Linked DNA regions of Homo sapiens: regions 1, 3, 4 and 5 are each linked to region 2. Evidence: promoter capture Hi-C in human tissues and cell types (Jung and others, 2019). All regions are on one chromosome and are shown on one strand. Each heading gives the region's core, a stretch centred on a gene start or on the middle of the fragment in contact. The rest is flanking DNA. Distances are from core to core; before and after follow the strand shown.

Region 1 (4,819 bases), core at 1,084-3,583, 290 kb before region 2:
AAGAATTGGGTTTGACATCAATAATGCGCTAATGCAATGGTGAAATTTTGCTTTCTCCCTTGAGCAGGATTTTTATATTAAAAAAATAATGAAAGATGGCTGGGTGTAATGGCTCATGCCTGTAATCCCAGCAATTTGGGAGGCCAGGGCAGGCAGATCACTTGAGGTCAGGAGTTTGAGATAAGCCTGGCCAACATGGTGAAAACCGGTCTCTACTAAAAATACAAAAATTAGCCAGGCATGGTGGTGCACACCTGTAGTCCCAGCTACTCAGGAGGCTGGGGCAGAAGAATTGCTTGAACCCAGGAGGCGGAGGTTGCAGTGAGCCGAGATCACGCCACTGCACTTCAACCTGGGTGACAGAGTGAGACTCCGTCTCAGGAAAAAAAAAGAAAAGAAAACAAAGATTTTTGTTTGCCTTTTGAATAAACTATAGGAAAAAGAAGGGAAAGAAAGGAGACAGATTATTTGGAAAGCTAAGTCTTCCTTCTATTAATGAGTAAAGGATTTTGCCTTTTAAAAATTTTTGAGTTATCATTTTGGGTAAATGAATGACTTATGGTGACCTGGGATTCTATTTTGTAATATCAAGCGTTTAAACCTTTAATATTTGACAAACTTTCCAACATCATACTCTAAATTCTGCCTTTTCCTGACCTAATTAATCTTTTAGATATTAGGTCCTCTCAAGTCCAAAAAATGACATATTCAGCTTATTTGGTATAAAAATCACACAGCAAGCACTGTCAGATATGAAATGATGCGTGGCTTTCTTTGGGCTATATTTGTATAAATATGTTATTGGTTTGTGTTCCAAAATCGTGTGAAACTTCTATAACTCTGATATGACAGTACATGTTATTAATATAATTGGTATGTTAAATTGTTCCATGTCACAGAAGTAATCAAAATTCCTAGTCAATTGTGGCTTTTGTAGAGGCTGCCCTAAGGCATTCTGTCATCCATACAAAATTGTTGTCTTGTTTGGGTCCTCTTTAGAAGGTGGTTTTATAATCAACTAGAGAACTCTAACAGGTGTTTTTGAATGCAGGTTTCTGATAACTTTGGAGGTTGCGACATTAGAATAGAGGAAAAACTTTCAGGACTCTCATGGAGAGCCAAAATGTTCATGAATATCGAACAGGAGTTAACTGCATGAGCTGAACTAATAGGACTAACAGAACTAATAGAAGACAGAAGTAACTTGTTTTGACATGAGCTGAACTAATAGGACTAATAGAACCAGTAGAAAACAGAAGTAACTTGTTTTGACTTTTTGCTTAAATTGTTGCTGATTCTTTGTTTTGTTTTTCAGAGCCAAGAAAACTTCTCTTTTGAGCTATTTACAGCTTTTAACAATTGAGTAAAGTAGAGAGAAACAAGAGAGATGGGTAATGTAAAAATCTGGATCAGGCTGGGTGCGGTGGCTCATGCCTGTAATCCCAGCACTTGAGGAGGCCGAGATGGGTGTATCACAAGGTCAGGAGATCGAGACCGTCCTGGCTAACATGGTGAAACCCCGTCTCTACTAAAAATACAAAACATTAGCCGGGCGTGGTGGCGGGTGCCTGTAGTCCCAGCTACTTGGGAGGCTGAGGCAGGAGAATGGCGTGAACCCTGGAGGCGGAGCTTGCAGTGAGCCGAGATCGCACCACTGCACTCCAGCCTGAGCAGCAGAGCAAGACTCCATCTCAAAAAAAAAAAAAAAAAAAAAAAAAAAAAAAAAAAAATCTAGATCAATATTCTAATTCTGGGCACACTGGAATCAGCTAGCAATCCCATATCATCTTAGTTCCAACAGTTACCCAGTTCATGAAAATCCCTATTTAATTTACTTGGGATAATTTTACTTATTTTGTTTTACTGTTGTGGAATATATTGCTGTTGTACTCTGTGTAGGAATGCAGGATAAGCTTACTCAATGTTTTCTTAAACTGAACACTTATTAATCTTCCAGATACCAAATTTTCTTGGCGTTATGAATGGCCCTCACCATACTGATGCTTTCTGACTTAGCTCCTTTCTTTCTCAAATATAAAAGACCCTAATAGTTAGGCAGGAATGTCATCACTCCTGTTCAGCCTGAAGAAGTTATAGAAGATGAATCTTTGTCCCTCTACAACCTTTAGAATTAAGGCTTCTCTCATAAAACAGAGAGGGGAAATATGTCAGAGGCGTTTAAACCAGAGCAACTCCATCTTGAATAGGGGCTAGGTAAAATAAGGCTGAGATCTGCTGGGCTGCACCCCCAGAAGTTAGGCATTCTAAGTCACAGGATGAGATAGGAGGTCGGCACAAGATACAGGTCATAAAGACCTTACTGATAAAACAGCATGTGTGGTGAAGAAGCTGGCCAAGTCCCCGCAAATGAAGATGGCAATGTAAGTGACCTCTGGTTGAACTCACTGCTCATTATATACTACTTACAATGATTGGCATGCTAAAAGACACTCCCACCAGTGCCATGACAGTTTACAGCAGCCATGGCAACGTCAGGAAGTTATCCTAGATGGTCTAAAATGGGAGGAACCCTCAGTTCCAGAAACTGCCCACCCCTTTCCCAGAAAATTTATGAATAATCCACCCCTTGTTTAGCATATAGTCAAGAAATAACTCTAAGTATTCTTAGTCCAGCAGCCCAAGCTGCTGGTCTGCCTATGGAGTAGCCATTCTTTTATTCCTTTGCTTTCTTAATAAACTTGTTTTCATTTTATTTACATATACTTCTTGAGACAGGGTCTCGCTCTGTCACTTAGGCTGCAGTGCAGCGGTGCAATCTTGGCTCACTGTAACCTCCACCTCCTGGGTTCAAGCAATTCTCATGCCTCAGCCTCCCGAGTAGCTGGGACTATAGGCGCATGCCACCACACCCGGCTGATTTTTGTATTTTTAGTAGAGACAGGCTTTTGCCATGTTGGCCAGGCTGGTCTCAAACTCCTAGCCTCAAGTGATTCACCCATCTCAGCCTCCCAAAGTGCTGGGAGTATAGATGTAAGCCACCGTGCCCAGCCGTTCACTACAGAAAAAATGTGTAAAAGATTCAAGGGGTACTTAACAAAAGAGCAAGTTAAAATGACAGGAAAGATCTCAATCTATTTAGTTATCAGTAAAATGCACATTAAAACCACAATGAAATACCACCATATTCTCACGAGAGTAGCTAAAATTCATAAGCCTGACAATACCAAGTGCTGATAATGATGGGGAGCAGGTAGGGCCCACCCACACTGATGGGCCAAGGGTGAACTGGAGAACGGTGATGCCATCTCAGCAATGTGAAGGTGCCCATAACCCTAGACCTAGTACTTCCACTCCTAAGTACTCAACCTTCAGAAACATATGCTTAGCTACCACGTGGCACACACCAGAATCTTCCTGGGAGCACTGTTTCTAGTAGCTAAAACTGGATACAGCCCATGTATTCCAGCAACAGCATAATGCTTAAGTAAATTCTGATATATTCATTCCTCAACAGAAATAAATGAATTACAACTACCCGCAATAACATGGATGAATTTTAAAAGCACAATGGTGGAAGACTCTGCTTCCGAGTAGGAGAGGGTACTGGTGGCAGACCAGCACTCCTGCCTAAGATGAGTTTAAAAACTGAATAAAATGCAGAAATGATCTTTTGGAGGCAGCAAGTTGCTGCTCAGCAAAGACAACTAGAGGAGTTAAGATTCCAGAGAGGGAAAACCCTCCGGAAAGTGAGCTGAGCTGCAGCTGTCTTTACGCTGTCCATGTTCAGGGATTCCAGCCCCCACGGGGGGCTGAGTATCCACCTGGAGCAGTCCCACCAGGACATGAAGAAACCTGCAGAGCTTTTGGTAGAGGCTAGGAGTCTCGAGAGCACAGCCACCTCCTGCAGGACATGTGCTGAATCCTCTGGCTGTGTGCAGCAGGAGACCAAGAGCCCATGTGGAAAACCTCTGAAAAGCAGAATGGGGTTGTTAAGAAGCCACGAGGAGACCAACGCCACGGCTGGGAAGCCATCAGAGGAAAGAGACACATGGACACACCAGGCACTGGCAGAAAGCCCAGGAGAGCCAGAGGAGAGCAAAGGCCGGCTGGGCCAGGCATGACTGGACTGCAGCGACCAGCCAGCCACTACTCTACTTGGAGGGGAAAGAGGTTTCTCTTAAGGAAGATGGCATTGTCTGGACCTGCCATAATGTTTTTATACACAACATACAATATTCAATCAAAAAGGCCAGGCATGGTGGCTCACGCCTGTAATCCAGCACTTTGGGAGGCTGAGGCAGGCAGGTCACTTGAGCCCAGGAGTTCAAGACCAGCCTGGACAACACAGTGAAACCCCATCTCTATAAAAAAAAGAAAATAAGAAAGAAAGAAAAAATTAGCTGGGCGTAGTGCTGTGCACCTGTAGTCCCAGCTACTCAGGAGGCTGTGGTGGGAGGACCTCTTGAGCCCAAGAAGTCAAGGCTGCAGTGAGTTGTGATCACCACTGCACTCCAGTGTGGGCAACAGAGCAAGACTCTGTCTCAAAAAAAAAAAAAAAAAAAAAAAAAAAGAGAGAGAAAACACAGACAAGAGCAACAGACCCAAAGGTGATACAGATATTGGTGTTAGCTAACAAAGACTTTCATTTACAATAATTAATGTGTGTATTCAAGGCAGCAGAAGCAAAGATTAGGAAAGTGTATGGAATAATGAGAAATTTTTCCAGAGTATTAGAATAGTAACTATAATAAAGAAATGAAAATTCTAAACTGAAAAGGCAATATCTAAAATAAGGAACTCATCAGGATTTCACAGCAGATTAGAAATTTCAGGGCCAAGAGCGGTGGCTCATGGCTGT
Region 2 (4,566 bases), core at 979-3,478:
GAATTTGAGGCTGCAGTGAGCTAATGATTGTGCCACTGCATTCCCACCTGGGTGACAGACTGAGATCCTGTCACTAAATAAATAAAAGACACCTCTATTTTAGTAAATGACCACCACCATATACCCAGTTGTTGAGGCCAAAATCCTCAGAGCCTTCTGTATCTGGCTTAATGAATAAGCTGGATGCAGTAGTATGTAAGCAGATAGGAACAGTGTTTTTTCTCATGACTGCCCCTAGAAGCTTAACTGTGTCAATTCTCAGACGTAGTTTACAGCTTTTTCTTTTCTTTCAGACATTAAAAAGAGCGGATTATTTTACTCATAAAAAGTCCAGTCCATTAAGATATCAAAACTCAAACTCTTATCCAGTTGAAACCTCTTCCCTCACCTAGCTTTGCCAGGTTCAGTGTGAGATTCCATCCAGGCTGAAGCCCCTTATCCCTATTCTTCATGTTTCTACATGGAGGAACTTACCTGGAGAAAAACTTCCAGCCTCTTTCTGCTTCCAGAGAAGTAGAGTGACTCATTTGATTGAATTTCAGAGAACAGATAGGGTGGAGTGTGCTCAGGCTCCTCTGGGTACTCTTTCTGGGGTCTGTGGGTTGACTGGAGGGGTGTCTTCTGGTGGGCACTCAATTGCATAGTGCTTGGTGAGGCAGTTTCATGGCCTAGAGGCTGGGGGATATGTTTGTCTGACTTAACGGGTGATTTAGTAGCTTGCCCTCTTGCTTGCAGATTTAAGCCTTGTCCTTCAAGCTAGGTTTTTAATTTGTGGCAAAGCTGATATTTTGATACCCACCCATCTTATTGCTGTGTCTTTTTCATCCGTTTCTGAACTGGGATAGGAAGAGGTGATTATCCTTGATTGTCTAAAACCCCGCTATTCCACTGTGGGGAAGGTGCCTGTGGGTATTCTTTTGTCCACTCTCTCTTCCAACTTTCTCCTCCGGCTTGCTGTGGCTCACCGCCCCTTCGAAGTTAGGCTGGGGGTAGGAATTGAGGAGTGGGTGCCGAAATGCTCACTAGGCTGGGGCAGTTGTAACTGGATGTCAGGGCTTCTGTGGGCCAGGTGAAGACATGCTGGGGTCTTCTGTGGGTCCTTGACCTGACTTACGGACCACTGGCTGCAGCCTCCAGACGTCAGCCATGTTTCCAACAGTCAGACGCCCCCTGCCCTGTTGCGCCCGGCTGTCCCTTCCAAGTTCGGTCACTCGCTCTGCCTCCATCTTCCTCTTCCCTCTGCTGCTAAGGCTTTTCACCTTTAATTTCTCCTGGGGCCACCCCCAACTCCAGCGACCCCGTGAGCAGCTGAGGCTCTACCGCGCTCGGTCCTGGCCAGCGACGCAGCCCTTCCCTGGCGGGGCTCCAGGGCTTCTGGCCCCTGTGGTCCGCCAGGTGTGGGGGCCCACGGCCTCACCGCGCCTACCCCACTCCCCCCGGCGAAGCTACGCGGCGCTCAGCTTCCCAGGGACGCCGGCGGCGCCCTCGGCTCCTCCGCTCCGCCCCGCCCTCCCCCTGGTCTCGCACTGGAGCCGACGGCCCGCGCCCACCTCACCTCAGGGCGGCCTCCCGCCCCCACCCCCGGCCCCGGCGTCCGGGCAAATCCTGCAGCGCGAGAGCAATTCCCTGCCACCCGACCTTCGCACTCGCTGTCGCTCGCTCGAGCCTCGCTCCCCACGTCCTTCCTTCCGACCCGCGGCTGGACCCTCCTCACAAATTTCTCAGAGAGGCTCACCTCAAAGCGCGGCGCACGAGGCCGGGCTCCCGGGACGCAAGCCTCTAGAGGGCGCGCGAGAGGCCCCGCCCCCGCCCTTCGGCCCCACCCACCAGCCCCGCCCCCACCCGCACCCACCAGGCCCCGCCCCCACCTCCCCACCCACCAGCCCCGCCCCCACCTCCCCACCCACCAGCCCCGCCCCTCATGCCCCGCCAATAAGGCCCCACCCGCCTCCCCCGTCCCGTCGCCTTCACCCACCATCCCCGCTCCCTCAGGCCCCGCCCCACGCCGCATGGGGCACCAAGCGCTCCACCACTGTGGTCGCCTGGCACACCCCGGGGTCACGCTCGCGGCGCTCTGATTGGTTGCGTGGGCGTCGGCCCACCTAAGCCTGAGCGCCTGCCGAGGCCTGCGCCTGCGTAGTGCGCGCGGGAGGGGCGGGAGGGGCGGGAGGGGCGGGAGGGGCGGGGCTGGGCGGCAGGTCCCGGGTGCGGACATCTGGCAGCTGGCAGTGGGCGGCGTAGAGCACTGCAGCAGCAATGACGGAGGGCACGTGAGTCCCCTCGCCCCGGGCTCCTGACGAATGCGGGGTGGTCCTAGGTGCTGAGGAGAGCGCGACTGGGGCAGTGGGCCGGCGGCCGGCGTTGGGGCGGGGCCTGGGTCGCTGATGGCCGGTGGTCCTCAGGTGTCTGCGGCGCCGAGGGGGCCCCTACAAGACCGAGCCCGCCACCGACCTCGGCCGCTGGCGACTCAACTGCGAGAGGGGCCGGCAGACGTGGACCTACCTGCAGGACGAGCGCGCCGGCCGCGAGCAGACCGGCCTGGAAGCCTACGCCCTGGGGCTGGACACCGTAAGTTGCTTCCGCGGAGCGTCAGCGAGCTCGGGACCCTGAGGGGTGAGCCGTGAGGAGCACGTTTTCTCTCAGAAAGGCGGGTGGGAGGACCCGGCCAGCGACGCCCATCCCCAAGGCGAGCGCCCACGGGAACTGCGTTCGCGGGCCCCTCCGCTTCAGCCCCTTCATCTCTAAACCACGCATAGGAGACTCCTAATGTTTTATTTTTTAGCACCTTATTTTGAGATAATTTTTGACTTATAGGAGAGTTGCAAAGATAGTTGTAACTTTGTTTTTATTCACAAAAAGTGTTTGGATCCACTGTCTTAGTTGTGTGCATTGTAAGAGATTTTGGTCGTCAGAGTCTGCAGTGTAAACAGGGTCTCCTGCCGAGCCCCGGCCACCGAGGGAAAGGCTGTGCCGCCCCTTGGGCCCTCTTTGAGAGGCCCGAGTCCCAGGCCCAGGTCGGCACCCGTGCCCCACCCTACAGTCTGGGTGCCTGGTTTATTCCAGACATCTTGGAGAAGTTGTGAAGAATACATGACTGGCAAATAAAGCAACGAAAATGTGCAGCTGTTCTTTTACTTTGCTGAGGTGTGATGCTCTCATCAAAGAGTTTCAGACTTTTGATGGAAACAGCTGAAACTTTTAAAGTAATTTACATTCACTGTTTTGACTTGGGCTGTATGTGAAGAGGGTTCCTCTGGCCGGGCAACAGTCCCGTCAGCTATCTCTTTTTTTTTTTTTCGATCTCTTTGCAGAAGAATTACTTTAAGGACTTGCCCAAAGCCCACACCGCCTTTGAGGGGGCTCTGAACGGGATGACATTTTACGTGGGGCTGCAGGCTGAGGATGGGCACTGGACGGGTGATTATGGTGGCCCACTTTTCCTCCTGCCAGGTAGGAGTATGCTGCCCCAGCCTGATGGTATGGCCACCCTGGATCACCCTTGGGATCCTGGCCCAGCCTGGTCTAGGGTTTTGATGAAGCAGGTGAAAATCCAGGGGCTCACAAGAAAAGGGCTGGCAAACTCTGCCCTATGTCAGAGTCGTCCTGCTATTGGTCTAGGGGATCAGCTAGCCTTGCCAGTGTAGGGTGACAGGCTCTCTGATAAGAGAAGCAAGTGGTTCTCTAGGGCTCTGTGTTGCCTTGAGGGAGGAGGAAGGTGGGCTTTGAAGTCTCAGTACAGGATGGGATGGACATTCCAGGTGGAAGGCCCAGCCTATGCCAAGGGGCTGTAGGTGGGCAGAGTGGTGGGTGGGGAGCTGATATCTGCTGTGAACTTCCTCGGGGCTATTGCAGGAGAGCTTCAGGTTCAGGCTGGTGAGTAGGAGGAGCATAGCAGTTGGACTGCCTGGGTATTGAACTGATTTGGCTACACAAGACTATTTTGCATCCTGGGAGTGTTTCTCTACAGAAATCCTCAGCCTTGTAAAATGGGAAATTCCCTCCTATGAATTTATGCAATAGGACTTTTTTCCCTAGTGACTTGTAATCACATTGTTTCAATGACGTGAATTCCTACATAAATAGGTTTTGTTTCTGTGATAACTCTTACTGATACATCATTTTCTTTTACTACGCTGACTTTGTAATAGATAGAAAGTCCTTATATACCTTTGTTGCCTTTCTTTTTAAAACATCTCTTACCTGTGTCTATTCATTTACTCATCCAAATTGCCTTTATCCTGATTTTGTCCCAGACTTGAAATGAAGTTGCAATAGGCTTATATGTTAGTTTGGGAAGAGTTGGCCTTTAACGTTAAAAACAGTTCCATGGTGTTTACTGTAGGCCAAGCCCTGCTCAAGGCCTGTTCTTCTTTTAGTCCTTAGAATAAGCCTAATGAGATACATTAGAAAGCTGAGGCACATTTATTCCAGGTAACCAGACTAGCAGGAGGAGCACTGGGATCCCCATCTCTGCTTTGACTTCTAGCCCTGCTGCCACCTGGACTGTACAGCATTGAGTTTTTCTGTCCTGGGATTTGAGGGCCTGTCCTTAGGGGAAGTCAAGGT
Region 3 (4,747 bases), core at 1,271-3,770, 270 kb before region 2:
CCCTATGAACTCCCAGACACGTTATGCAGACATCTGCGTGCATGTGGGTGGCTCAATTCTCAAAGGGATCCAGACTCAGAACCACCATCTTCAGCACAGAGGCAGGCACAGAGTAAACCTGCCTGTCACAATGGCCTGATGAGATTTTGGTTAGAAATTCCCTCAAGGGGCTGGGCATGGTGGCTGACACCTGTAATCCCTGCACTTGGGGAGGCTGACATAGGCAGATCACCTGAGGTCAGGGGTTCGAGACCAGCCTGGCCAACATGGCGAAACCCCGTCTCTACTAAAAATACAAAAATCAGCCGGGCGTCGTGGCACATGCCTGTAATCCCAGCTACTGGGGAGGCTGAGGCAGGAGAATCACTTGAACCCAGGAGGCGGAGGTTGCAGTGAGCTGAGATTGCACCACTGCACTCTAACTTGGGCAACAGAGCGACACTCTCTCTCAAAAAGAAAAAAGAAAGAAAGAAGGAAGGAAGGAAGGAAAGAGAAAGAAGAAAGAAAGAAAAGAAAGAAAGAAAGAAAAAGAAAGAAAGAAAAAGAAAGAAAGAAAGGAAAGAAAGAAAGAAAGAAAGAAAGGAAGGAAGGAAGGAAGGAAGGAAGGAAGGAAGGAAGGAAGAAATTCCCTCAAGGAAGCAGAAACAAATTTGAAATCAATTGTCACTGGTACATTTTTTTGTTACATTATGAAAAAAACAGCCAGGATCATACAAACTACTACAACCCCCAAAAAAGTATGTTGGACACCAAACCTTTGCAGTCCTAAAAGAATAAAACTACAGAAATTAAAACTTCCCCCACTGCCAGTTAAAACAGCTGCAAAACTAAGAGACCACAATCAAGTTCCTTTTTTTTTTTTTTTTTTGAGATGGAGTCTCACTTTATCACTGCCCAGACTGGAGTGCAGTGGCACAATCTTGGCTCACTGCAACCTCTGCCTCCTGAGTTCAAGCAATTCTCCTGTCTCAGTCCCCCAAGTAGCTGGGATTACAGGCATGTGCCACCACACCCAGCCAATTTTTGTATTTTTAGTAGAGACGGGTTTTCACCATATTGGCCAAGCTGGTCTTGAACTCCTGGACTCAAGTGATCCAACCACCTCGGCCTCCTGAAGTGCTGGGATTACAGGTGTGATCCACCGCGCCTGGCCACAATCAAGTTCTTAAAGTAGAATTGGTGTAACATTTAAAAACAGACATTAGATCTGGAACATATGTAAAAGTCACTCCTTCCATTGTCTGAATGTACATTTTTGTGTTTTATTTCCATGGTACAGTCCATCTATCTGTTCAGAATGCTGGCTGACTGTAAGTTCCTATAGGAATTATGGTTATAATTGGGTCTACCACTAGGAAAGGCACTGTGTCTATATGACTATAGAAATTGTGTTCTACCACAACAATGAATACACAGATGCTCGCCCATTTATAAGAATCAACATAGGGGCCAACATGGTAGCTCACACCTGTAATCCCAGCAATTTGGAAGGTCAAGGCGGGCAGATCAGCTGAGGTCAGGAGTTCGAGAATGGCCTGGCCAACACGGTGAAACCCTGTCTCTACTAAAAATACAAAAATTATCCAGGCGTGGTGGTGCATGCCTGTAATCCCAGCTACTCGGGAGGCTGAGGCAGGAGAATCGCTTGAACCCGGGAGGTGGAGGTTGCAGTGAGCCAAGATTGCACCACTGCACTCCAGCCTGGGGGACAGAGTGAGACCCTGTCACAAAAAAAAAAAAAAAAAAAAAAAAAAAATCAACACTAGCTGTGCAGTGGCTCACACTTATAATCCCAGCACTTTGGGAGGCTGAGGCAGGAGGATCACTTGAGCCCAGGAATTTGAGATCAGCCTGGGCAACATAGTGAGCTCCCATCTCTTAAAAAAAAAAATTAGCTGGGCATGGTGGTGGACACCTGTGGTCCCAGCTACTTAGGAGGCTGAGGTGAAAGGACCACTGGAGCCCAGAAGTTCCAGGTTACAGTGAGCTAGGACCATACCGCTGCACTCTAGCCCGGGCCACAGAGTGAGATCTTATCTCCAAAAAAATAAATAAATAAACACTAGTCTATGTTAGGTAGAGACAACTGGTAATGTTTAATATTTTAATGAAGGTACCTGTTAGTATCACTGTGGTACTCCTAGGTACAATGTAAAGCAGTAACTTTTTACTAGGTTTGTAGAAAGCTGAAGTATATGAAAGCACAAACTCACTGTCTGCATAGCAGAATATACCTTTTGAAAAAATCTAAACCGTTAAGATTTTTCACAACCCTTGAAAAAGCCTGATGCTGATCAAATTAGCATTTTAAAGTATGTCTATCAGGAGGTTCTTTTAGTTTAAAAAGAAATTTCCCCACTCTTCCAAATCTAGCAAAAAGAATAAATGATTTTAAAAGTATATATGGAAAAAAAGGTATACATGGTATACATACATGTACTACAAGTAGTTTTTTAAAACAGCTATATAATGGCTGGGAGCAGTGGCTCATTCCTATAATCCTAACATTTTGAAAGGCCAAGGCATGAGGATCACTTGAGCCCAGGAGTTCAAGCCCAGTCTGGGCAACACAGTAAAAACTCCATCTTTCCAAAAAATTTTTAAAAATTAGCTAGGCATGCTGGCATTTGCCTATAGTCCCAGCTGCTCAGGAGGCTAAGGTGGGAGAATTTCTTAAGCCCAGGAGTTCAAGGCTGCAGTGACCTATGATCATGCCACTGTACTCCAGCGTGGGTGACAGAGCAAGACCCTGTCTCTAGGTGGAAAAATAAAAAAAAAAGCTGCATAAAAATAAACATAAACTACATTCAAAATAAAAATAAGCTACTATAATTAAAAGAAGCTACTATAATTAAAAGTACTGCTTTTAAAAATAGGTATTTACATTTGTATAAAAAAGGCTTAATGTATTTGATTTCCTTAATCCAAAACTGAAAGTGATATATTTTTAAAAATTATCTTTACCTGATATGTTCTACCTCGAATTTTTTACTTAATATATTCTTCCTCTTTTCATGTTTCTTTCCTTAGTTTAAATTGAAGACACATCTAGTGTTAGAAACTAAAACAAAGGATGATTTCTGTCATAAGAGGGAAGTTGAGTATTTTTGAGATTTAGAAATTCAAATTAACTATGTCCAACATTTAGGATGTGGGTAGCTACAATCTGTAGAAAATTGCAATCCTGTAAGCAAAGTATTAAATCAAGTCCAAGTTAAGAATTTTTTTTAAATGTATTAGAATTGATCACAAAATGTTGATGCTAGGACTAACAAGAAAGGAAGAGATGATTACAGCTGCATCTGCAGGAGTCAGGAGCTGTCTTCCACCAACATAGGTAATAAACCTACATTATAAATAATTGCAGCCAAGTCCTTTTCAGAGAATGAAAACATCTAATTCAAACACACATTAGAGTTCAATGCTTTGCTTAAAGACACCCCACAATCACTGGAAAGTTGAGGGCTGTACGGTTAAACATTCTGAACTGTGGCTAATTTTTCATGCTGAATAAGCTTTTATTTCTAACCCACCCGGAAACAGTGTTGAGATGACTCAGCAATGGCTAATAAACTCAAACTACAAATGTTTTGTTTGCTCTCCTGCACCATCTCACCTAGAAAGGAGCTTCTGGGAGAAGAAATGAGGTAACAGAACATTTAAAACTACTGTTTTCCTGCCCCTGCCTCAGAATTGGAGTTAACTATGTATTTCTACAAAGTTAAATCACCAACGATGAACAGAGAAGGCAAACAACAGTGCAAAAGCTGTTTTCAAGATATGGACTGTACACCACCTTGAGGAAAGGTGGGCAGCAGCCTCTGGCCATGGAACACCCAGGAAAGCTACAGAAACAATCTGAGCAGGCTGTTTTCCTAAGAGAAACTTTCTCTGTGGAAAATGCTGCCTGCTGCTACCCTTGTAGTCTTGGCAGTTCCTTTATGAGCTGGAAGCAGTGTGGAGACAGAGCAGGGCACTGTGAGCTTTCATCTGAGACGGACGCCTCAGAAGAAGGACACATGTTCAATGGAAACACAAGAGATGTGCTGACTCAAACAAACAAAAACATGAAGAGCAACAGTGATGCACACTACAGAGGATGATGAGACAGAAGCTGTGGGCCACCCAACATACCCAACTTGCCCCCAGTCCAGCCAAATGACCGAGGTCTTACAAAAAAGAGCTCGGCACCCATGGGGACCCCAGCACAAACACCAGCGTGTCACAGGTGTCACCTTTCAGTTTTGGCAGAAAAGCAACAAAAAGCAAAGAAAATGAATAGGAATCAAGAAAACTGGTATCAGCCCTGGCTTCACCACTTAAGGCTGCTGTCTGATCTCAAGCAAGTTACAATCGCTGGACTTTTTTTTCTTCCTTCCTCATCTGGGAAAAAAAGGAGGGGATTAAGATGAGTCTTCAACAATACTGATTGTATTTTAAGGTACTTGTGCAAGAGTGTATGTGGGTTTCACATGCCAGCTACATACAGCTAACTATGCTGCTGTTTTAGTTAAAAAATAGAATTTCAAAGGATGAAAGGTTTACACTTTTTTCATCTCTAAGATGAATGTAATTTAAAGGATTCCATGATTTGGGAAAGATCCATGCATCATATGATTAGCTCTGACTGACACCTTTTCAGGCCAAAGGCTGTCTAACCTGGTATCTGGAGGAGCGAAAGCCCTCTACCCCAACCTCAGAATTCCAGCCAGGTACAGAGACAACCAATGGGCCTGCAGCTGTGAAC
Region 4 (4,460 bases), core at 451-2,950, 350 kb before region 2:
GAGATGGATGGAGCTGGAAGCCATTATCCCCAGCAAACTAACGCAGGAACAGAAAACCAAACACCACATGTTCTCACTTATAAGTGGGAGCTGAACATTATGAACACATAGACACACAGAGGGGAACAACACACACTGGGGCCTGTTGGGGGGACACTGGGGGAGGGAGAGCATCAGGAAAAATAGCTAATGCATGCTGGACTTAGGTGATTGGTTGATAGGTGCAGCAAATCACCATGGCACATGTTTGCCTATGAAACAAATCTGCACATCCTGCACATGTACCCTAGAACTTAAAAATTTTTAAAAATTGCCATCGGGGGTCACTTGCTTTCAGTCTGATGGACTTTCTTTAGTATTTATGGTGATGTCAGCCAACAACAAAATTTGCTTATCTAAGAATGTCCTTATTTTGCTTTCATTTTTCAAAGGTGTATACCTTTTGTATATCTTATTTGGAGAACTGTCTTACAGCTTTTTCTTTTTCAAAATTGCTTTGTTTATTCAGAGTGTCTTTAGATTCTATATCAATTTTAGAATGAGTTAGTCTTTCTGCAAAAACCATAATTAGAATTTGGATAGGGACTGCCTTGAATCTGTAGATGGCTTTGAGTAGTACTGACATCTTAACAATATTAAGACTTCCAATCCATGAACATAAGATGTCTTTCCACTTATTTCTTTGTATTGTTCGATGTTTTCCATTCAATGTTTTGTACTTTTCATTTTATAAGTCTTTCATCTCCTTGGTTAATTCCTAAATATTTTTTGATGCTATTGTCAATGGAATTGTTTTCCTGATTTCCTTTTCGAATTGTTCATTGTGAGTGTATGAAAATGCAACTATTTTTGTGTGTTGACCTTGTATCCTGCTATGTTGCTAAATTTATTAGTGCTACTTTTTTTTGTGGAATCTTTAGGCCTTTCTACATATGAGATTATATCATTGGCAGAGATAATTTGAATTGTTTCTTTCCAATTTAGAATCCTTTTTTTCTTGCCTAATTGCTCTAAGAGCTTCCAGTTCTGTGTTGAGTGGAAGTGACAAACGCAGTCATCCTTGCTGTGTTTCTGATCTTATCAGAAAAAGCTTCTGCAGATTTTCACTACTGAGTATGATGTTTGTTGTGGATTTTCATATATGGACTTCATTATGTTGAAGTAGTTTCCTTTTATTCCTAGTTGTTTTTTTCTTTAATCATTATAGGGTACTGAATTTTGCCAAATGCCTTTGCTGCATCAATCGAGACGATCACATGTGGTTTTTCCCCTTCATTCCATTAATATGGTTTATTACATTGATTGTTTTATATATTGAATCATCCTTACATTCCAGGAGTAAACCCCACTTTGTAATGCTATATAGTGTTTTTAATATGCTGCTGAAGTCAGTTTGCTAGTATTTTATTGAGGATTTTTACATCAATGTTCAGAAGGAATCATGGTCTGTAGTTTTCTGTTTTTGTAGTGTCTGACTGGTTCCAGTATCAGGATAATGCTTGCCTCATAGAGTAAGTTTGAAAGTTTTCCCTCAACTTTCTGAAAAAGTTTAAAAAGGATTAGTGTTAGTTATTTAAATGTTTGGTAGAATTCACCAATGAAGCCATCAGGTTTTTGTCAATAGATCTTTTATTACTTAAATCAATCTCCTTACTAGTTATAAGTCTACTCAGATTTTCTATTTCTTCATGATTAGTCTTGATATGTTTTGTGTTTTTAGGAACTTGTCTATTCTAGGTTTTTCCATTTGTTGGCATACAATTGTGCATAGTATTTTTTAATGCTTTTTATTACTGTAGAATTGGTAACGTTTCCAATTTTATTTCTGATTTTAGTAATCTGTCTTCTTTTTTTCTTGGTCCATCTAGCTAAAATGTCAATTTTGTTGATCTTTTCAAAGAAACCATTTTTGGCTTTCTTGATTTTCTCTGTTTTTCTATTGTCTCTCATCTATTTCTGCACTAATCCTTACTTCTGCTAACTTTGGGTTTAGTTTGTTCTTCTTTTTTAGTTTCTTAAGTTGTAATGTTAGTTTGTTAATTTGAGGTCCTTCTTGGTTTTTAATGTAAGCATTTATAGCTATAAATTGCTTCTTTAGCACTGCTTTTGCTGGGTCCCATAAGTTTTGGTACATTGTTTTTATTTCCAAGTATTTTCTAATTTTTCTTGTTATTTCTTCTTTGATCCATTGGTTGTTTGAAAGTGTGTTAATTTTCACTAATTTCTGTATTTTCTCAGTTTTCCTTCTGCTATAGATTTTTAACTTTATCCCAGTTTGGTTTAAGGAGAGACTTTGTATATTTTTAAATCTATTGAGACTTAATTTGTGGCCTAACATGTTGTCTATCCTGGAAAATGTTCCATGTGAACTTGAGAAGAATGTGTATTCTATTTTTATTGTTGGGTAGAATGTTCTGCATATGTCTGTTAGATCTAGTTAGTTTGTTGTGCTGTTTAAAGCCTCCATTTCCTTACTTATGTCTTATTGTTCCATCCATTATTCAAAGCAGGGCACTGACATTTCCAACTATTATTATAGAACTGTCTATTTCTCCTTTCTCCCTTCTATTGTCAGTTTTCATTTCATATATTTTGATGATCTGTCATTGTATGTGTAAATGTTTACAATTGTTACATCTTGCTGAATTGAATCTTTTATTAATGTCCATCATTTCTTGTAATCATTTTTTATTTAAACTATATTATTATAGCTACCTCTGCTCCCTGTTGATTACTATTTGCATGGAATATCTTTTTTTTTTTTTTTTTTTTTTTTTTTTTTTTTTTTTTGTGAGAGAGGGTCTTACTCTGTCTCCCAGGCTGGAGTACAGTGTTGTGATCTTGGTGCACTGCAATCTCCACCCATCAGGCTCAAGGAATATTCCCACCTCAGCCTCCTGAGAAAGCCACAATGCCCAGCTAATTTTTGTATTTTTTTGGTAGAGATGTGGTCTCTTCATGTTGCCTAGGCTGGTCTCAAATTCCTGGGCTCAAGAAAACCACCTGCCTCAGCCTCCCAAAGCGCTGGGATTACAGACATGAGCCACTGTGCCCAGTGAATATATTTTTCCATCCTGTCACTCTCAATATATTAATACTGTGTCTTTGGATGTGAGTCTCTTGTAGACAGCATACAGTTAGATCCTGTTTTTTCCCCATTCTGCCAATCTCTGTCCATTTAATCTATTTACAGATAAAGTAATTATCAATAAGGAGAGACTTACTTCTGTCACTTCATATTCTATATGCCTTATATCTCTTTCATTTCTTGTATTGCGCCCTTCTGTGTTTTTTTTTAATGAAACATTTAAATCCCTTTCTCACTTCCTTTTGTGCATACAGCCATGCATTACTTAACAACAGAAATATGTTCTGAGAAATGTGTTTTTAGGTGATTTCATCATTGGGGGAACAACATACAGTGTATATGTATCTACACAAACCTAGCCTACAACACACCTAGGCTATATGATATAGCCTATTGCTCCTGGGTTACAAACCTGTCCACCATGTAACTGTACAAAATACTGTAGGCAATTGTAATGCACTGGTATTTGTATATCTAAACACATGTCCAAATTTAGAAAAGGTAGTAAAAATACAGTATAAAGGATTAAAATCAGTACACTTGTACAGGGCACTCAGTCCATTGTATGTTGCTTATAACAGAACACCTGAAATTGGCTACATTATAAGAAAAACATGAATTTATTTCTTAGAATTATAGCAGCTGAGAAGTCCAAGGTTGAGGGCCACATCAGGTCAGGGTCTTCTTGCTGGTAGGGACTCTCTGCAGACTCCCAAGGTAGTGCAGGGCATCATATGGTGGGGGCGCTGAGCATGCTAGCTCAGGTCTTCATCTTCTTACAAAGCCATCAGCCCCATTCCCATGATAATCCATTAATCTATCAATCCTTGAATAGATTAATCCAATCACCTCTTAAGGGCCCCACCTCTTAATACTGCCACATTGGGGGTCACTCAAATCATAGTAAGTACTTACCATTAATGGAGCTGGTAGAACTCAAAGTTATTTTGGGTGTAAGTGGTGAATGAATGTGAAGGCCTAGGACATTACTGTACACTACTATAGACTTTATAAACATTGTACACTTAGACTACACTAAACATAATTTTTCTTCAATAATAAATTAACCTTAGCTTACTGTAACTTTATAAACTTTCAAATGTTTTTAAGTTTTTGGCTATTTTGTAAAAACATTTAGCTTAAAACACATTGTACAACTGTGCAAAACATTTTTAGACATCTTTATAAACTTTTTTCTCTAAAAATTTTTTATTTTTTACATTATAAACTTTATTATTAAAAGCTAAAACCTGTCAATAAACTAGGTATTGGTGGACCATATCTCAAAATAATAAGAGCTATTTATGACAAACCCACAGCCAGTATCATACTGAATGGGCAAAAACTAGGAAGGATTCCCTTTGAAAACCGG
Region 5 (4,716 bases), core at 916-3,415, 360 kb before region 2:
TCAAACAAGAATTCAGGTGATTTTTTTCCTCAGGGAAGTTAATAACACCAGATCAGCAAGACAGCACTGTCTGCCTAGATTATACCTCTAGAGGAATTGTGACCATCCTCTGGGTGTACCAGCCCCCTCACTCAAGAGTTGACTGTGCAAGGCAGAGAGTGGAAAAGGCCTCAGCTTCTCTAATACCCAAGGATTCCTGAGCAGGGACATCACTGCCTTTGCCCAGGCTTACAGTAGCCAGGCCCCTCTGGACTGCAGTCTCCTCATTCAAGAAAGTAGGAGTGTTGGGTGGTGTGCAGATAGTGCACTAAAGTGCACCCCACCCTTTCCTACTGGTCTTCACATCTTGTGAAATCCCCAGCCCCTGGGTGTTCCTGATCTCAGTTGTGAGGAAGGATCCATTAAGTATCCATTGAGTATGTTAACTGTGGGTTTTTGTAGTTGCCCTTTATCAGGTAAATTTCCCTTATATTCTTAGGGTTTTGGATTTTTTTCAAAAGCTTTTTCTGTGTTTACCGAGGTTGATGCAGGATTTTTGTTGTTGTTGCTGCTTTGCCAGCTGGAAGCTTCTTTAGCCAGCAGGACCTCTGTTCAGTTATTCCCATCACCCCACTCTGGCCCATGGCTCCCAGGCTGGCCTGGCCCCACCAACACTCCCATTGCATGGGCCAGCTGGCATCAGGGGAGTAAAGGAGGGCTACAGTGTTACAGCTCCTTTTTGCACCTGCTGTTCAGCGGGTCCCAGGTTCTTGTCCCGCGTCCAAGAAGAATGAGGTTATGCAGACAACCAAAGAGTGAGCAGGGCGGAGAATTTTATCGAGTGACAAAACAGCTCTCAGCAGAGAGGGGGACACGAGTTGGGTGCACTACCCTTACCCAAAATCAGGTAGTCCTCCCTGTGCCTGAAGGTGGGCAGTCCCTGCAAGTGTGGCTGAGTCCGGGGCCTTTTTTTTTTTTTGGATGGAGTCTCGCTCTGTCGCCCAGGCTGGAGTGCAGTGGTGCGATCTCAGCTCACTGCAAGCTCCGCCTCGCGGGTTCATGTTATTCTCCTGCCTCAGCCTCCCCAGCAGCTGGGACTACAGGCGCATGCTGCCACGCCTGGCTAATTTTTGTATTTTTAGTAGAGACGGGGTTTCACCGTGTTAGCCAGGATGGTCTCAATCTCCTGACCTTGTGATCTGCCCACCTCGGCCTCCCAAAGTGCTGGGATTACAGGCATGAGCCACCGCACCTGGCCAAGTCTGGGGCTTTTATGGGCTCAGAATGGGGGAGTGTGTGGTGATTGGTTTGTGAGTATGCAAAAAAGGCTAAAACAAAGGCACCACTCAAAGATGGAAACAACAATGTAAAAATGTAAAAAAAAACAATTAGGGAAGGGTAGGTATATGTAAAATAGGTGAAGGGTGGGGGTCAATCAGAGGAAAGCACATCAAATGGGAAGAGAGGTTCTCAATCCGGTCCATGGATTTATCTGAGATTTGGAGCTTGGCATTCAGGTTTTTTTTTCCTTTTCTGTAGCAATTTTTAAATTTTATTTTATTTGCATAGGTTATTGGGAAACAGGTGGTGTTTGGTTACACTAATAAGTTCTTTGGTGGTGATTTGCGAGATTTTGGTGTACCCATCACCCGAGCAATATACACTGCACCCTATTTATAGTATTTTATCCCTCACTCCCTTCCCACCCTTTCCCCAAGTCCTTGTATTAGTCCATTTTCACACTTCTGATAAAGACATACCTGAGACTGGGCAACATACAAAGGAAAGAGGTTTAATGGAGAATTCACAGTTCCACGTGGCTGGGGAAGCCTCACAATCATGGCAGAAGGCAAGAAGGAGCAAGTCACATCTTATGTGGATGGCAGCAGGCAACGACAGAGTGAGAGCTTGTGCAGGAAAACTCTCCCTTATACTAACCATCAGATTTTGTGAGACTTACTATTATGAGAACAACACAGGAAAGACCTGCCCCCATGATGCAGTTACTGCCCACCAAGTCCCTCCCACAACACATGGGAATACAAGATGAGATTTGGGTGGGGACACAGGCAGACCATATCATTCCACCCCTGGCCCCTCCCAAATCTCATGTCCTCACATTTCAAAACCAATCATGCCTTCCCAACAGTCCCCCAAAGTCTTACTTCAGCATTAACTCAAAAGCCCACAGTCCAAAGTCTCATCTGAGACAAGGCAAGTCCCTTCTGCCTATAAGCCTGCAAAATCAAAAGCAAGTTAGTTACTTCGTAGATAGAGTAGGGCTACAGGCATTGGATAAATACAGCCATTCTAAATAGGAGACATTGGCCAAAATGCTGGGGCTACAGACCCCATGCAAATCTGAAATCCAGTGGGGCAGTCAAATCTTAAAGCTCCAAAATGATCTCCTTTGACTCCATGTCTCACATCCAGATCACACTGAGGCAAGAGGTGGATTCCCATGGTCTTGGGCAGCTCAGCCCCTGTGGCTTTGCAGGGTACAGCCTCCCTCCTGGCTGCTTTCATGGGATGGCATTGAGTGTCGGCAGCTTTTCCAGGCCCACAGTGCAAGCTGTCTGTGGATCTACCATTCTGGAGTCTGGAGGATTGTGACCCTCTTCTCACTGCTCCACTAGGCAGTGCCCCAGGAGGAACTCTGTGTGGGGGCTCCAACCCCACATTTCCCTTCTGCACTGCCCCAGCAGAGATTCTCCGTGAGGGCCCCACCCCTGCAGCAGACTTTTGCTTGGGCATCCAGGCATTTCCATACATCTTCTGGAATCTAGGTGGAGGTTTCCAAACTTTAATTCTTGACTTCTGTGCACCTACAGGCTCAACACCACGTGGAAGCTGCCAAGGCTTGGGGCCGCCACCCTTGGGTAACAGCCCAAGCTGCACCTTGGCTCCTTCCAGTCACAGCTGGAGTGGCTGGGATGCAGAGAACCAAGCCCCTAGACTGCACACAACACAGGGACCCTGGGCCTGGCCCATGAAACTGTTTTCTCCCAGGCTTCCAGGACTGTGATAGGAGGGGCTGCTGTGAAGACCTCTAACATGCCCTGGAGACATTTTCCCCACTGTCTAGAGGATTAATATTCAGCTCCTTGTTATTTATGCAAATTTATGCAGCCGGCTTCAATTTCTCCTCAGAAAGTGGGTTTTTCTTTTCTACCACATTGTCAGGCTGCAAATTTTTTGAACTTTTATGCTCTGTTTCCCTTATCAAACTGAGTGCCGTTAACAGCACCCAAGTCACATCTTGAATGCTTTGCTGCTTAGAAATTTCTTCTGCAAGATACCCTGAATCATCTCTCTCAAGCTCCAAGTTCCAGATATCTCTACAACAGGGGAAAAATGCCACCAGTCTCTTTGCTAAAACGTAAGAGTCACCTTTGTTCCAGTTCCCAACAAGTTCCTCATCTCCATCTGAGACCACCTCAGCCTGGACCTTATTGTTCATATCGCTATCAGGCTTTTGGTCAAAGCCATTCAACAAATCTCCAGGAAGTTCCAAACTTTCCCACAATTTTCTGTCTCTTCTGAGCCCTCCAAACTGTTCCAACCTCAGCCTGTTACTCAGTTCCAAAGTTGCTTCCACATTTTTGGGTATCTTTTAAGTTGCACCCCACTCTACTGAATACCAATCTACTGTATTAGTCAATTTTTACATTGCTGATAAAGACATACCCAAGACTGGGCAAAGGAAAGACTGGGCAAAGGAAAGGCTTTACAAAGGGAAGAGGTTTAATGGAGAACTCAGTTTTACATGGCTGGGGAAGCTTCACAATCATGGTGGAAGGCAAGGAAGAGCAAGTCACATCTTATGTGGATGGCAGCAGGCAAACAGAGAATGAAAGCTTGTGCAGGAAAACTTCCCCCATATAATAACCATCAAATCTCATGAGATATACTATCATGAGAACAGTACAGGAAAGACCTGCCCCGTGATTCAGTTACCTCCTGCTGGGTCCTTCCCACAACATATGGGAATTCAAGATGAGATTTGGGTGGGGACACAGCCAAATTCTATCAGTCTCCAAAGTCCATTATATTATTCTTATGCCTTTGCGTCCTCATAGCTTAGCTCCCAATTATGAGTGAGAACATGCAATGTTTGGCTTTCCATACCTGGGTTACTTCACTTAGAATAATAGTCTACAATCTCATCCAGGTTGCTGCGAATGCCATTAATTCACTCCTTTTTTGTGGCTATACAGTATTCATATATATATACATCACGATTTCTTTATCCACTCGTTGTTTGATGGGCATTTGGGTTGCTTCAACATTTTTTTCAGTTGCGAATTGTGCTGCTATAAACATGCATGTGCAAGTATCTTTTTCATAAAATCACTTCTTTTCCTCTGGGTAGATATCCAGTAGTGGGATTGCTGGATCAATTGCTGGTAGTTCTACTTTTAGTTCTTTAAGGAATCTCCACATTGTTTTCCATAGTGATTGTACTAGTTGACATTCCCACCAGCAGTGTAGAAGTATTCCCTGATCACCACATCCATGTCAACATCTACTATTTTTTGATTATGGCCATTCTTGCAGGAGTAAGGTGGTATCACATTGTGGTTTTGATTTGCATTTCCCTGATCATTAGTGATGTTGAGCATTTTTTCATATATTTGTTGGCCATTTGTATGTCTTCTTTTGAGAATTGTCCTTAGTCCACTTTTTGATGGGATTTTTTTTTCTTGTTGATTTGTTTGAGTTCATTGTAGATTCTGG

Evidence for each region. Contacts are between HindIII fragments. The study calls those that stand out against the background at their distance.
Region 1: a contact is called between a fragment that was not itself captured here and the fragment with the promoter of LSS in region 2, in 1 of the 25 tissues and cell types used here (lymphoblastoid cells).
Region 3: a fragment that was not itself captured here is called in contact with the fragment with the promoter of LSS in region 2 in 2 of the 25 tissues and cell types used here (IMR-90 fibroblasts and lymphoblastoid cells).
Region 4: a contact is called between a fragment that was not itself captured here and the fragment with the promoter of LSS in region 2, in 1 of the 25 tissues and cell types used here (dorsolateral prefrontal cortex).
Region 5: a contact is called between a fragment that was not itself captured here and the fragment with the promoter of LSS in region 2, in 2 of the 25 tissues and cell types used here (dorsolateral prefrontal cortex and spleen).

What each region holds. Positions count from the first base shown.
Region 1 is chr21:46,516,767-46,521,585 of GRCh38, reverse strand. The region is part of intron 8 of DIP2A (disco interacting protein 2 homolog A); the gene reads right to left. Among named protein-coding and RNA genes, the nearest start is that of DIP2A-IT1, 57 kb to the right of the region's middle. The HindIII fragment of the contact is 7,528 bases long and covers 1-4,819 here.
Region 2 is chr21:46,226,436-46,231,001 of GRCh38, reverse strand. LSS (lanosterol synthase) reads left to right here and starts at 2,228. Exons shown (of 22, transcript NM_002340.6): 1 at 2,228-2,270; 2 at 2,403-2,568; 3 at 3,312-3,450. The coding sequence starts at 2,257. It overlaps MCM3AP-AS1 (MCM3AP antisense RNA 1), which reads right to left and starts at 1,771. Exons shown (of 4, transcript NR_110565.1): 1 at 1,736-1,771; 2 at 475-675. RefSeq lists silencers at 1,424-1,863, 1,924-2,183, 2,194-2,363, 2,424-2,473 and enhancers at 1,893-2,187, 2,904-2,973. The HindIII fragment of the contact is 14,795 bases long and covers 1-4,566 here.
Region 3 is chr21:46,499,447-46,504,193 of GRCh38, reverse strand. All of the region lies in intron 5 of DIP2A (disco interacting protein 2 homolog A), which reads right to left. Among named protein-coding and RNA genes, the nearest start is that of DIP2A-IT1, 39 kb to the right of the region's middle. RefSeq lists an enhancer at 3,623-3,762. The HindIII fragment of the contact is 5,234 bases long and covers 1-4,747 here.
Region 4 is chr21:46,571,976-46,576,435 of GRCh38, reverse strand. It overlaps a transcript of DIP2A not described here. Among named protein-coding and RNA genes, the nearest start is that of S100B, 31 kb to the left of the region's middle. The HindIII fragment of the contact is 3,898 bases long and covers 1-3,649 here.
Region 5 is chr21:46,590,532-46,595,247 of GRCh38, reverse strand. No RefSeq gene overlaps it. Among named protein-coding and RNA genes, the nearest start is that of S100B, 12 kb to the left of the region's middle. The HindIII fragment of the contact is 3,264 bases long and covers 534-3,797 here.